5 separate regions of the Homo sapiens genome follow, and all the other regions are linked to region 3. The links are contacts of gene promoters, found by promoter capture Hi-C in blood cells and fetal thymus (Javierre and others, 2016). All regions are on one chromosome and are shown on one strand. The core of a region is centred on a gene start or on the middle of the fragment in contact, and the rest is flanking DNA. Distances in the headings are between cores, read along the strand shown.

Region 1 (2,836 bases), core at 114-2,613, 1.3 Mb before region 3:
TCCATTTCATTTCTGATACAGAATAATCACAAAAACAAGTATATACTGCTGGCTTTAGTTCCCCATGAACGATAACCAGCAGGATATCCACAAGGCCACCCCTGTTTTCTGTGCTTCCCTCCTCCTGGGCTGAGTCCTGCAGAGCTGCAATAGGAAGTTCTCTGTGACCAGGTGGTTAGCATGAAGACGCATGTCGATGGTGGCCTCAAATTCCACTTTGAAGTTGGTCTTCAGCATGCGGCAGGTAAACAGCCTGGAGAAGACCATGTATATAGGGACAGAGAGGCCCCTACAAATGTCCCCATGGGCATCTGAATATAAGGAAACTCTGTGGCATCATTGGCATAGCTTTTTGCACACCCACAGGTCTCCATGTGCACCAGTTGCAGCCCCATGCCTTTTCACCACCAGCTCTCCTGTAAGCAGCTGCACGATGACACAATTCATTGAGTTGGGGTGTTCTCGAATGAGAAATCTGGGGAGCAAGGCTCTCTCTTTGATATTCTGTAAGGTTGCAGGTATAATCTGTGAAGTCCACAGGACTTGGAGTCAACTTCCCCTCCTGAGGAGCAGAGTGGATGGTAAATTCACCGGCCTTTGTCAAGTCCTTGGTCAACAGAGACTGCCTCATGTCACAGCGTAGTGTATACTGAATGTCTGATAATAAGTCTCATACAGAACTTTGTTACCCCTCACATACAGAAGAAATGCGAAATAAATTTGTTTTGCCATAGGGAAATTTCCCTGGCTTCATCCTTTCTATGGCACTGTTGATAATCTGGATAGGTTTAATGGAATTATAAAAAGCTTCAAAACTGCCCACACTTTTGGCACTGAGCTGGGGGATTGCAATTCCTTCCATTGTCAAAGACACTACTTGATGTGGGACTGAATCCTTACAAGATACGACCACCACACTGGAGAGCATTTCTCCAGCATGAGAAACTATTTGCTCTTCCATCTTGATGTCCAGGGAGGTCCCTGTTTTGAATTCTCCACAGCAGCCAACACTTCTGACCTCACATCAAGTTTTTCTTATCAATTTTTCAGGGACCCTTTTAATAGCATCATTTATCTTATTACCGAAAATATTTTTCTAAGTCTAGGGCTTATTTTTAATTTTGTTTATACTATCATTTACCATAACAAAATGTTTAAAATTACATGCTATCATATATATCTGTCTATTCCTTCATGATTTTTTGTTTTTCTTTCTTCCTTAGGAGATGTTCTTTTTTCTAATATTTATTTTAAATTCTTTTTACATTTAAATTTCAATCAATTTGGAATTTGTTTTAGTATATGGGGCAAAATAAGGGCCAATTTTCCTTTCAGATGGATAGCCAATTATGCATTATTTTTCCATGAATTGAAATATCACCTTTATCATATATTAGGTTCCCATATATGCTTAGATCAATTATTATATTTTGTATTCTCATCCTTAGACCTACATGTTCATTCCCGTTTTATACTATATTATTTGGTCATAGTAGTTTTATAGTAAGTGTTAATATCTGTTGTATTAACATCTGTTCTTCAGATATTAATGTCTCTCACTATTCTTCAGTCTCATAATTTTACTATTCTTGTACAACTATTCTTCCAACATACCTTCAAAATTATTTTATCCTATTTAGAAAACCTTGTGATTCTATCTGGAAATGCATTAAATTTAAATACAGTAGATTATGCTCTATAAGGCTACCATGAACAGTGAATTAGGAAATACTGAACCCATTGTTCCTAGAGAAAATACAGGGTTAGGTTCCTGCAAGCCTCTGGCCACAATATTTTTGTCAACCAATCAATGCACAACCTTGTTTTATGTGTTTCTGTATAAAGATGCTTTTTAAATATATATTGTTGATTCATTAGCATTAAACTCATGGTCAACAGCAATATAAATCATACCTGAATGAAGCTTATTTAACGTGTGTATTTTTTCATTAAGGCACATCGTAGCCTTGCTGTGCTTGGGAACACTAGACAGCAATTCAGTACCGTGCTTTGGGGCCATTTGCCAAAGTAAAATCACCAACAAAAAGCACAAATATAAAAAAACAAGACACAAAATAGACACGAAAAGGACACTTGCTTATAGAATGAGGGCTGAAACAGTAACACAGAGCACTATCTGGTTTGACCTCAGCTGGGAACACGTGCATCAGGCAACTCAAAATTTTTTTGCCACTCTGCTTATGTCTGCAAATACTGAAAAAGCACCAGGAGTGTTAATTTTAGGGTTACAAATAAATTTTTGCAAGTAGGCAAATTTGTAAGTATTGAATCTGCAAATAACAAAAATCAGCTATTAATTTTTGGAGCAGGTACATTCTTATGCTAGTCTTCTCATTTAGAAATTTGGCATTTTTTCCTTTTGTTCAGGACTTGTTTTCTGTACTCAATAAAATATTATAATTTTATTTGGGTCTTGTATCTTTTTTGTTAAACTTTTTTGTAGTTTCTTTTAAAAATAATTTTTACATGTATTTTGAATGAGATTCTTACAAAATTTATAGCTGGTTATTGCTAGTAGAGTGAAGAATTTTGTATATGTTTATTTTATTTTTCCACCATCATTTGAAGCCTATTAATTCTAGTAATTTTTGCTAGTTACTTGGGGTTTCTTAGTAATTCACAATTAAATTAGCTACAAAGAGAAGTAATTCTGTCTGTTATTTTTCTGCAGTTTAATTTTCTTTTTAACTATGTTTTCAAGAACTTCCTGAAATATTTAATAAGAGTGATGATATTTGGCACCTAACTTTCAGTTCTGGTTTTGTAAATGAAAGTATTCTCAGTGCAAACTATCATGTGTAAAGGAAATAAAACC
Region 2 (2,848 bases), core at 144-2,643, 1.3 Mb before region 3:
ATAGATTGGGTCTCGATCTTTAACTACTTACACTCTCTCAAGCAGGTAGATCATTTCTCTGGGCTTCATAATCCTTGCCTGTAAGAAGGGGCTGGACCAAATGAAATTTTAAGATTTTTCTTCTGCTTTGAAGATTCTATGATTTTAATATTTATTGTGTTTGATAACAGAATACTAGTTGATCAGCAAGTTTGGAAAATAGAAGATGTCTTCACATTACAAGTTGTGATGAAGTGTATTGGAAAAGATGCACCGATTGCTCTTAAGAGGAAACTGGAGGTAAACACATGAATTTTCTCTAGTGGATGAGATTTGAAAAAATCTTTCTTATAACCTGCTATCACTGCCTGAAGTCAATTTTCTAGGAGGACATTGCTGGGCTTTTAGGTTTAGCTTCACTAAAGTGAATGAATAGAAGTACCCTTATATTTATTTATCTGTATATATATACATGTATATTTATTTATCTGTCTGGGTCATATTACCCAAACTTCATCCTTTTTGTTTAAAAATAAATGTTTAGGCCAGACATGGTGGCTCACACCTGTAATCCCAGCACTTTGGGATGTCAAGGGCAGGGAGATCTCTTGATCCCAGGAGTTTGAGACCAGCCTGGGTGACTGAGCAAGACCCTGTCTCTGCAAAAAAAAAAAAAAAAAAAAAAAAAATCAAAGAATTAGCCAGGCGTGGTGGTACATGCCTGTAGGTGGTGCATGCCTGTAATCCCAGCTACATGGGCGGCTGAGGCAGGAGGATCACTTGAGCCTGGGAGGTTGAGGCTCCAACCTGGGTGACAGCACAAGACCCTGTCTCAATAAAAATAAAAGTTTAATTTATTTTGTCACAGATAGTAAATTAAATTAAAATTTGTTTTTTCTTTAGATGAAAGCCTTGAGGGAATTAGACAGATTTTCTGTTTTGAATAGCCAACACATGTTTGAAGTACTAGCTGCCATGAATCACCGATCTCTTATACTCCTGGATGAATGCAGTAAGGTGGTCCTAGGTAAGAGGAATTTTTCTTTCATCATTTGCAATACCTGAGCTTCTGTTTTAGACTATTTTTGTTTTGTTTTAAAAACTTTGCTTTTATATGAAAAAAGAATAAAGCATGTTGTATTCAAAACAATCAGGTAATTTTTGTTTGTTTATTTAACTCATTCTTCAAGATAATATCCATGGGTGTCCTTTAAGAATAATGATCAACATATTGCAGTCCTGCAAAGACCTCCAGTACCATAATTTGGATCTCTTCAAGGGACTTGCAGATTATGTGGCTGCAACTTTCGACATCTGGAAGTTCAGAAAAGTGAGTACATTAACAATTTAGAATAAGCCTCACAAACTTTTAAAACACTAATTCATGTAGCATTTTAAGTATTTCTCTTTCACCTTTATAGTAGTTAAGATACCAAAATATTCCAATGCTGAATTGACTTTTGAAAAATTAGCTCCTTATTATTCCTGTCTGGGGGCTACTTGCTAATATGAATAGTCCCCAACTTAGGATGGCTTGACTTAATATTTTTTGACTGTTTGATGTTGCAAAAGCAATACGCATTCAGTAGAAACCATACTTTGAATTTTGAATTTTGTTGTTTTGCTGGGTTAGTGATATGTTGTATGATGCTCTCTTTTCATGCTGAGCAGTGGCAGCAAGTCGCAGCTCCCAATCAGCTGTGCAATCATGAGGGTAAACAATGCATATTGTATTCAATAAATTACTTGAGATATTCAACACTTTTATTATAATATAGGCTTTTTGTTAACTCATTTTGCCCAACTATAGGTGAATGTAAGTGTTCTAAGCGTGTTTAAAGTAGGCTAGGCTAAGCTATGATGTTCAGTAAGTTGGATGTATTAAATGCATTTTGACTTAAAATATTTTCAATTTATGGTGAGTTTGTTGGGATATACCCCACCGTAAGTCAAGGACAATCTGTATACTATTCTATCCTTTGGTCATCTTTCTATTTGAAACAAAAATTTGCTCTTCTTTTTCGTTTTAAAAGGGTTGTATGGGCTGGGCGCGGTGGCTCACGCCTGTAATCCCAGCACTTTGGGAGGCCAAGGTGGGTGGATCACCTGAGGTCAGGAGTTCAAGACCAGCCTGGCCAACATGGTGAAACCCCATCTCTACTAAAAATACAAAAAGTAGCCGGGCATGGTGACGTGTCCCTGTAATCCCAGCTACTAGGGGGGCTGAGGCAGGAGGACCACTTGAACCTGGGAGGTGGAGGTTGCAGTAAGCTGAGATTGTGCCACTGTACTCCAGCCTGGGCAATAAAGATCAAAACTCTGTCTCAAAAAAAAAAAAAAAAAAAAAGGGTTGTATGGTACTTTTGTTAGATATTTAGCATGATTTCCGTGTTTATACTTTGTTCTTGTTAGATTTCAAATAATAAAGATGGGTGATGTGACAGGCTTGGGGTTTTTGAAGAATAAAATGTCACTACTTAATGGTCATGTCCATTGTTTTATCCAGAGTAAAAGCCTTTAAAATCAGGAGCTGTGTTAAGAATATAAACATTTAATGAAGCACCTGGTAAAAACTTCTTTTTGCAATGAAATAGGTGATAACTGTTAGATCTCTAGGTTCAGTTTATTTTGGAGAGTAAGGTAAATATTGAGTTTACTGTGGAAATTGGTTATAGAAAGAGAAGTAATAATCCTAAGTAAGAAAGATTGAGAAGGAAATTGGAGGTGAACTTGAAAGTTTATTTTAATCATAATGTTTCAGTTCCATTTTCACTTATAGGTATGAATATTAAATATAGAAATTTTGGGGTTATGTCTTACATGTTAGAATCTAGGAAGTATTTAAGTTTGGGAATGCGAGAAGTTCAAG
Region 3 (3,115 bases), core at 385-2,884:
CAATTACTATATGCCAGGTACGGTTCTAAGCCTTGAGCTCAGGAGTTCAAGACCAGCCTGGGCAACATGGCGAAACCCTGTCTCTACCAAATGTACAAAAATTAGCCAGGCGTGGTGGCTTGTGCCTATGGTTCCAGCCACAAGGGAGGCTGAGGTGGAAGGATCGCTTGAGTCCAGGAAGTCGAGACTGCAGTGAGCCATGATCACGCCACTGTACTCCAGCCCGAATGACAGAGTAAGACCCTGTCTCAAAATAAAATAAAATAAAATAAAATAAAATAAAATAAAATAACAATAATAAAAACCCTAATGAGGTCAATACTATTATTATTCCCATTCTACAGATTAGGAAACAGAAGCGCTAAGTAAACTGCCCAAGATTACACAACTAGGAAGTGACCAAGCAGGAATTCAAACTGAAGTAGTCTGGCTTTATAGTTTTTGCTATAAACCATGACATTGTAAAAATATTCATTGTAAAGAAAAACTCATCAGGAATTAGTATCATTTCTTCTATGTATATCTATCTATTGTAGGTGCAATTTAACCTAATATTCATCTCCTGTCTAAAAGACTATGTGACCAAGGTTACAAATGTCTACTGATATTTTTAGAGACTAGATATATAGCCCAGCTTTTGTTAAGGCATTTTCTTGAAGTCAGTCAGTCAAAAACTGCCTTGTATTTTAAGTATGCCAATTATAATTTACATGTAGTATTTTATAATAAAATACTTTATAAATACAAATCACAACTCACTACGATTACTTAAAATATAGAGAAAAAAATTCAGCTGTTTCTCTCTGGTCCCTTCCAAGGAAGAAAAAAGAAGAGAGAAATAAACTTCTAAATAAGTTTACAACAGCATGGCTCAATCTCAGTTTAACCTGGTAAATTCAAATTTGTCTTGCTTTGCAAGGTATACATCCAGACCAGTCTCAATTTGTCATCCAAATATATATCTCAGTAGTAATTTATTTTTGTTTAAGGGATGAGTGTGAGATTTTCTTATCTTGATTTTTTAGCTTAATAATTCTTTCCTACAAGACCAAACCATGCTTGTCATCAGTCATGTGGTGTCATTTACTATACATTAAAAACGGACAGAGTCGACAGAAAGAACAATCGTTTTCTGGAAGCCCCAGCCTGATGTAGGTTAAAAGCTCTGCTGGGGTTTGGTTTTATAATCCCCAGGCGGGGATGGCAGGGATACTAATAACGCACTCAACAAGATCACCTACTATTTCAACTACTTTCTCCTCCTATTACATACCTGATTCACAAAAATAAGCAGACAATGCATCATGTAATCTCCCCTCACCCATTAGCCATTGCAGTGTGGTACAATCTCCAGCACGTAATAAAAACCTGAGCATGCAAGAAACAGCAAAATCACTGCTATCCCTGGGAGCTGCTCGGATATTTACAATGCAGTCGTCCCCACCCCATCCCCCAAACTGGCCGGCCAGGCAGCACAGAAGCAGACGGATGCTCACCTGGGCCCCGGCTGCTACTCTCCATTCACCTGCGGGGCCTTCAGTCCGCTCCTGGAGGGGCTTGACTCCCGCAGCCTGCCGCCCGCCTCACGGTGACAGCCCGCCCGGGCGCTGACCATCCCGGCCCGGCTCTGTTTACAAGCGGCTTCTCGCGGTCCCACTCTGAAATGCTTCCGCCGGCGGCCCGGGCAGCCAGAGCCGGACACACAAGGTTCCAGGCCGCGAGGACGAGTCTTTCCTGCCCGAGGGACCCGGCAGCTAGGCAAGGCCTGACCGCACCCGCCAGGCCTCCTTATTTCTTTGCTTTCTTATATACAGTTCCTCTTGTACACATTGTGAAAGCAATGGCGTGTGTCGTGGAGTCTCCTCACTGCTCCACCCAACGCCAAAATGGGTGTTTGCGATTGGAAAATGTCACTTAGAACATGTCAGGATCGGGCTGGTTTTTAGCAGCTCCCTTGTCTAAGGGAATTAATTACTCAAATAAGTTCTTTCCAAAAGTGGGACTATTCTGGAGATTGCTTCTCATTTCCGGTTTTGGGGCTGCAGTGAAAATCCGTTTTCACTGTCCTTTCCTACGCAGGTTGAAAAGGGGTGGTTTTGAGGTGAGGTCTTCACCCCCACTTGCGGATTCCCAGCAAAATAGGGTGTGCGTGTGTGTGCACGCGGGCAGGACTGCCTGGTAAGACCGCCCACATCCCACCTGCAGTGACTGTGGTCGCTTTGCAGGGATATGCTGGTCTGATTGGACAGACCTTCCTTGCAGTTTCCTGTCTGTTTTCCATCATAGCACACTTCTTAGCCATTTTCTCACTTTATAAGTACACACTTATTTATCAGTTTTATTGGTTTTCCCACGCTCACCCATCTCACCTATAAACTCCCTGAGGGCAGGCACTATTTCAGTTTCACTCACCACCATCTAGTAGGCACCTAGCACAGGCCCAATGTATATATATCTGAATAAATGAATGAACAAAGGAATGATAAAAAAAAAAAAAGGTCAAAGGGGTCAGGGATGAAACAGAAATCTAAAACTCTGATTCCTCTTCCCACCTTCCCACCCTCCAGAAGATTAATAAGCAAATCTTTAAGCTTTGAGTTAAGAAAAAATTTCCTTTGGTTGATATTCAAAGTTTAAATAAGCTTTCTTTAAACCCTGCAATTTGAGGTACTTTTTTTTCTGTTTTGCTAGAGACAGGATCTCACTCTGTGCCCCGGCCAGAGTGCAGTCGCACGATCATAGCTCACTGCAGCCCTGAACTCCTGGGTTCAAGGGATCCCCCCAACTCAGCCTCCTGAGTAGCTAGGACTACAGGCACGCATCACCACAACGTGGCTAACTTCTTTTTTCTTTCTTTCTCTTTTTTTTTTTTTTGTAAAGGCAAGGTCTCCCTGTGTTGCCCAGGATGATCCTGAACTCCTGGCCTCAGGCAATCCTTCTTCCTTGCCTTCCAAAGTGCTGGGATTACAGGTGTGAGCCACCTCACCTGGCCAGAGGTACATTTTTTGTTTTGTTTTGTTTTAATTACCAAAAGAGAATATTTGCAGTATTCTCTTTTGCCTCAGGACTTTGTACATGTGATTCCCTCTGATGAGAGTTCTCACTCCTGGCCCAT
Region 4 (2,780 bases), core at 146-2,645, 1.3 Mb before region 3:
CCTGAGGAATAAATTTGTGAAAAACAAACAAAGAAGACTTCTTATATACCAAACCTCAAGCAAATATTAGCCAGCACCAAATGGTAAATGACCACTGGAAACTAAACTTTGCCTTTGAGGTCACAGCGCGACGTCCACACCCTCACCTGTTGTACATTGTCGTGAGAAGGCTCAGAGTGAGTTCCGGAGCTCTGGGATGCACTTGTCCTGGGTTTTCCTCCCTGGCCTTCTGAAACAGCTCTTGGAGTGCCTGAGAAAGTTGCTGCACAGAAAGGGAGTGCTTGCGAGCTTCCCAGAAACTTGGACGCAGTAGGACCTGCTGAATCAGGGAGCTGTCAATCAAGTCCACTGTAGGAAGCAAATGAAGAATTGAGCCTTATTTTCTGATGGGAACAAAAGGCTTCAAATAAAGCAAATGTCATTTGGTGTTTTATAATTAAGACTTTTTATGGTCGCTATTTTCTTTTAAGGGGAATGAAATATGACTACTATTTGGACATATATTCCTTGTGTATACTTCAGGCGTTACTATTCTAGCGATTCATTTGATTTTGGAAAGGTGCATCTGTTAGTAAAGCATAGTTGTAACATTATTACCAGTACAGTTTCTAGGATGTTGTTTTATAGAAAGAAGTTAAAAAGGGAAGTGAGAAACGAAAAATACGCTTTCCAAGAAAGTTATGACACTGTGGTAAAAAGTTGGGGAAAACATTTTTATACTCTTCATTAAGTGGATTGAATAAATTTACCTTTCCTGTTCAAATATAGTTTTTCTTGTCTGCAGCCCAGCTTCAGAAGCAATATGGTGTGTTGAAAAGCAATTGCCGTAGTTAAATACAAAACAGTGATCTTCATAAAAGAGCAGTTACTCTTCTGTAAAGATCTTTAGGCTAAAGAGTCTGAGAATTCTGCAACTCAGTAATACCACTGTTAACAATCTTGGTTCCATCAGTATTATTATCTAGAGAAGGCACTTAATAAAACTACAGCTGCTTACAAAAAATAATGGTTTATTTCTTATACTGAATATTTTTTAACCACCTTCTCCTAAAATTTTTACAAGGCAATGAATAGAAACAAGAATGTAATAGAGCTAACCCCATAGCTTCTTGCAGAGAGAGGATGACAGACAAAATTAATAAACAGCCACTTGCACCATCTGAGAGGTGGGGATATCAAGAGCGCCAAGAGCTCCTGGCATTTAAAACGCTTCAGCCTGTGAAACCATAAAACCCTGGGTTTCTCTCTACTTCGTAAATCAACCTCAGATAAGAAATCTAGCAAGTATAATAAAAATTTTTATTTGTTCTCTGATATTGCTTTTAAGAGGAGAGTCTAAGGAACAGAGGAACAAGTTTCAGAATGTGACTTAAATAAAAACCTGGCTGCAGGTGGTGAAGGCTGTAAACTCTTTTATCGTTAAAACCTGTCACCTCAGCCAGGCATTCTGAACACAGGCCGATTTCATCTCCTGCTGAGAGTTCTATATTACACCAAACCAGATAATAGTGGTGTCCATTAATCTCACCACAAGATTTATACAGCGATGTGTCCCCGATCTTCCTATTTGGAGCTCATGTTATGCTTTATCTCAGTGTTTGGGATTTTCTGTTTTTAAATTTTTGTTTGGATATCTTTTCTAGGTAACATTTTTCAACCACTGATTTTGTGTATTGTTAATATTTCCCATGAGTGTTATTTATATTCACTGTTTCTGATGCCAGAGATAACAAAAAGTTGAAAACTGTGCATCCACAAATTACGCTACGGAACATACTCAGGCATTCGTGACTGGGACATGTGAACAATTGCTGCTAACTTTCTCTAATGGGAGAAATTCTCCAGGAAAATGCATAATTGGGGGTAAATTTTTAGCTTTTTGTTTGTTCCTGGAATAATAAATAATAGTTATAAGTGAGTTTCTTTATCTAGAGCAGTAATCTACATAAAACTGTTTTTAAAACCAAAAATTTCTTCTTCAAAGGAACCTAATACAGAAACACAGTATAAGGCCAGGCGCGGTGGCTGATGCCTGTAATCCCAGCACTTTGGGAGGCCACTGTGGGCAGATCAGTTGAGCTCAGGAGTTCAAGACCAGCCCGGGCAACATGGCGAAACCCTGTCTCTACTAAAAATACAAAAAATTGGCAGGGTGTGGTGGCTCACGCCTGTGGTCCCAGCTACTCGGGAGGTTGAGGTGGAAGGATGGCTTCAGCCTGGGAGGCAGAGGTTGCAGTGAGCTGAGATCCCTCCACTGCACTCCAGCCTGGGTGACAGAGTGAGACCCCAGCTTACACACACACAGACACACACACACACACACACATACAAGCAAACACGGTATGGAAAATAGAGAAGGATGGAGTTGTTCCTGCTGAGGATGTGGTCTTTGAATCGTCCCACCTTGCTTGCAACTCCTCTTCCCACCTGGCTAACTCTTTTTTGCCCTACCCTACATTCACATATATTTTGTGAAGCCCAATTTGAAAACCACTGCCCTATATAACTTTTTAGGCAGGAGGAAAAATATTTTTAAATGTCAGCCTTCAGTAGAAATGTCATATATATAACATAACTTCTCTTAGGTCTGATATGATAAATTTCAGAAATCATTTTACGTGAAGTGATTTTTCTTTCATGCAGTGAGAAATCAATAACTTTAGATATGCTGAATGCCTGATGTGTTTCATAGCTTGGACCCAGTTTATTTTTCACCTTGGAAAATTTTCACAGGATACATGTTTTAGTAAAAACATTTTACCTTATTTTGCCTAGATAAC
Region 5 (3,005 bases), core at 427-2,926, 1.2 Mb before region 3:
AGAAGGATCGTTTGAGCCCAGGAGTTTGAGACCAGCCTGGCAACATGGCAAAACCCCACCTGTACAAAAAATAGAAAAATTAACTGGGTGTGGTGGCATGCACCTGTGGTCCCAACTACTCAGAAAGCTGGGGTGGGAGGATCGCCTGAGCCTAGGAGGTCGAAGCTGCAGTGGGCCAAGATTGTGCCACCGCACTCCAACCTGGATATCAGAGTGAAACCATGTCTCAAAAAAGAAAAAAGAATTTAAAAAGAATTTCACTCAGGGTTACAGACACTTAATGTTATTAAGACCCACTAGGAACACCTGTGTATACTGCTGGCTGGTTTTACATGTCACCCCACCCTGAGCAGGTTTCTCTAGGCAGCAATAAAGCTTCTGAGGCAGAGGAAGGGAGAAACCAACACACCTGCCTTTATTTTCCATTTGTTCTCCTTGCATCCAGTTTTCACCACACTTCCCCATGCTTTCACTACAGTTCTGCCAGGCTCCTCTCAGGCAATCTCTTTACACCAGGGGCCACATAATCCTAAAGAGGGAAGGGAAGATAGCATCAAACTTTCACCCAATTATTTCAGGCAATCCATCTCCTTCCCTCCTCCTTGCTTGCTTGCTTCCTTGCTTAAAAAATGCAGAATAGGCCGGGCACGGTGGCTTACACCTGTAATCCCAGCACTTTGGGAGGCCGAGGCGGGCGGATCACGAGGTCAGGAGATGAAGACCATCCTGGCTAACATGGTGAAACCCCGTCTCTACTAAAAATACAAAAAATTAGCTGGGCGTGGTGGCGGGTGCCTGTTGTCCCAGCTACTTGGGAGGCTGAGGCAGGAGAATGGTGTGAACCTGGGAGGTGGAGCTTGCAGTGAGTCGAGATCATGCCACTGCACTCTAGCCTGGACGACAGAGTGAGATTCTGTCTCAAAAAATAAATAAATAAGAAAGACATGAAATATATTAAATATATAAATGAGCTTTCACCTCGTCATAACTTTTAAGTTAAATTAGACAAAGAGCCAATGCTATTCTATTCGAGAACCTTTGAAGTGCTCAGATGCTGCTTACACTCATCAGAAAAATACTCCATCTTATTAAATGTGAGGCCTGAAGAAAACCTAGTGTTAAAGAAAATCAATTAAAGATAAATAAAACAGAGGGGCAAAGCCCCGTTCACCAGCTTGGGTTCAGATGAAGCTCCCCCGACAGCCACTACTCCTGTGCTGTTGCAGGCTATTGTAACGGGGGTTCCACGTCATCCAGGCCACAGGCCAAGCCTTGGATGCACCTGCTCTTTGCCCAGCTGCCCCAGGGCAGAGCTCTGCACAGATCACAGTGCCTTAAGACAGGATGATAACACCCCTCAGTGTTTTCCTTAGAGTGCTCCATGCACCACAGCCATTTTTCAAAGCATCCCCCAGGCCAGGGTTAAGGCAGAACAGGTTTTCCAGTCATAGCCTCCCACTTAGCTGAGTAACATTTCTTGAGTGATCTTGTAAATGAATAGTTTGAAAGAAAAACAGGCAACTAAGGCAGTGCGGTCACATTGTTTGAGAATACAGATGCAAAATTACTTGTGAATTTACTTGCTCATTTTTCCAAAGGATGTAATCTGTACACTTAGAAGTATTTCACTCACATGGGGCTCTTTGTAGCAACACAAACCGAACAAGCTATTTCTGAAACTCATATTTAACTGTGATTTGATATCATCTTGATTTTCTTAATTTTTTTTAAAATTGTGATAAAATACACAACATAATATTTACCATCTTAACCATTTTTAAATGTACAGTTCAGTGGCAGTGAGTACATTCACATTGTTATATAACAATCACTACCCTCCAGCTCCAGAATCTTTTCAACTTGCAAAACGGAAATACTGACACATTAAACAGTAACTCCCATTTCCCCTTTCCCCCAGTGCCTGGCAACCACCATTTACTTTCTGTCTCTATGAATTTTACTACTCTAGACACCTTATAGAGTGGAATTGCTCAGTATTATTCTTTACTGACTGGCTTCTTTCACTTAGCGTAGTGTTTTCTGGCTCATCCGTGTCATGGCATGTGGCAGTATTTCTTTCGCCCGGGCACTTTGGGAGGCTAAGATGGAGAGGCTGAGAGTTGAAGACCAGCCTGGGTAACATTGCAAGACCCCCATCTCTACAAGAAAATTAAAAAGGCTTGAGCCCAGGAGATTGAGCCTGCAGTGAGCCATGATCATGCCCCTGCACTCCAGCCTGGGGAAAGAATGATACCCTGTCTCAAAGAAAAAAAAAAGAATTTCCTTCCTTTTAAAAAGATGGAATTATATTCTATTGTATGTATATACCACATTTTGTTTATCTGCAGATGGGCCCTTGGATTGTTTCTACCTTTTGTATCAGTGTGTGTGTGTGTGTGTGTGTGTGTGTGTGTGTGTGTGTGTGTGTGTGTATTTCTAGAAACTTGTTATTCTCCTGAGTGTTAAACTGTTTTAAATGTTTGGTTTTTCATTTCTAGAACATTTTCCTATCCTAAAATTTACCTATCTGGCTATCTATCATCTATCACTTTTCCTAAGGATCTTTAGTTGTTTACTTTTTAATGAAGTATAATATACGTTATGATAGTGTATTTTATGTATCCTCATATCCTTTCACTGTGGATTTAATTTTTAGAAATAACAAAAAGTCACATAGGGCAAATTCATTAAGCTGAGTGGGTGATTAAGTTAACAATAGTAATGACCATGTATTAAGTGCCTACTATGTGCCAGGCACTGTGCTAGCATTTCACACCCATTATATCATTCAGTCTTCACACCCCTGTTTGGTGGTTATTAATGATTACTAATATTCATTTTATAGATGAATAAACTGATACTCAAGGCCTTAATTGCCTTTCCTAGGGGTGCACAACTAGAAAAAAGGCAGAGCCAGATCTGCACCCAAGTCCTTCTGACCCCAGAGCTCATGCTTGTATCATCGCACCAGTGTTACTCAAGCTTTCCTGGTGATTACAGTCACA

The links. The method cuts DNA at HindIII sites, captures the fragments that hold promoters and counts their contacts. A CHiCAGO score of 5 or more calls a contact.
Region 1: a contact is called between a fragment that was not itself captured here and the fragment with the promoter of PLEKHM3 in region 3, in 3 of 17 cell types (naive CD4 T cells, total B cells and activated CD4 T cells). The highest score is 6.1, in naive CD4 T cells.
Region 2: a contact is called between a fragment that was not itself captured here and the fragment with the promoter of PLEKHM3 in region 3, in 1 of 17 cell types (total CD8 T cells). The highest score is 6.1, in total CD8 T cells.
Region 4: a fragment that was not itself captured here is called in contact with the fragment with the promoter of PLEKHM3 in region 3 in 1 of 17 cell types (total CD8 T cells); the score reaches 7.2 in total CD8 T cells.
Region 5: a contact is called between a fragment that was not itself captured here and the fragment with the promoter of PLEKHM3 in region 3, in 1 of 17 cell types (naive CD8 T cells). The highest score is 6.6, in naive CD8 T cells.

The regions. Positions count from the first base shown.
Region 1 is chr2:206,686,382-206,689,217 of GRCh38, forward strand. All of the region lies in intron 9 of DYTN (dystrotelin), which reads right to left. It also overlaps the pseudogene VPS26CP1. Among named protein-coding and RNA genes, the nearest start is that of DYTN, 31 kb to the right of the region's middle. The HindIII fragment of the contact is 1,117 bases long and covers 806-1,922 here.
Region 2 is chr2:206,771,012-206,773,859 of GRCh38, forward strand. FASTKD2 (FAST kinase domains 2) reads left to right here. Exons shown (of 12, transcript NM_001136193.2): 4 at 171-279; 5 at 883-1,006; 6 at 1,170-1,309. Among named protein-coding and RNA genes, the nearest start is that of FASTKD2, 6.8 kb to the left of the region's middle. The HindIII fragment of the contact is 4,118 bases long and covers 1-2,848 here.
Region 3 is chr2:208,023,893-208,027,007 of GRCh38, forward strand. PLEKHM3 (pleckstrin homology domain containing M3) reads right to left here and starts at 1,635. Exons shown (of 8, transcript NM_001080475.3): 1 at 1,497-1,635. The HindIII fragment of the contact is 3,995 bases long and covers 1-2,589 here.
Region 4 is chr2:206,707,156-206,709,935 of GRCh38, forward strand. It overlaps DYTN (dystrotelin), which reads right to left. Exons shown (of 12, transcript NM_001093730.1): 3 at 147-348. Among named protein-coding and RNA genes, the nearest start is that of DYTN, 9.8 kb to the right of the region's middle. The HindIII fragment of the contact is 4,270 bases long and covers 1-2,780 here.
Region 5 is chr2:206,796,278-206,799,282 of GRCh38, forward strand. No RefSeq gene overlaps it. Among named protein-coding and RNA genes, the nearest start is that of MIR3130-1, 14 kb to the left of the region's middle. The HindIII fragment of the contact is 2,607 bases long and covers 374-2,980 here.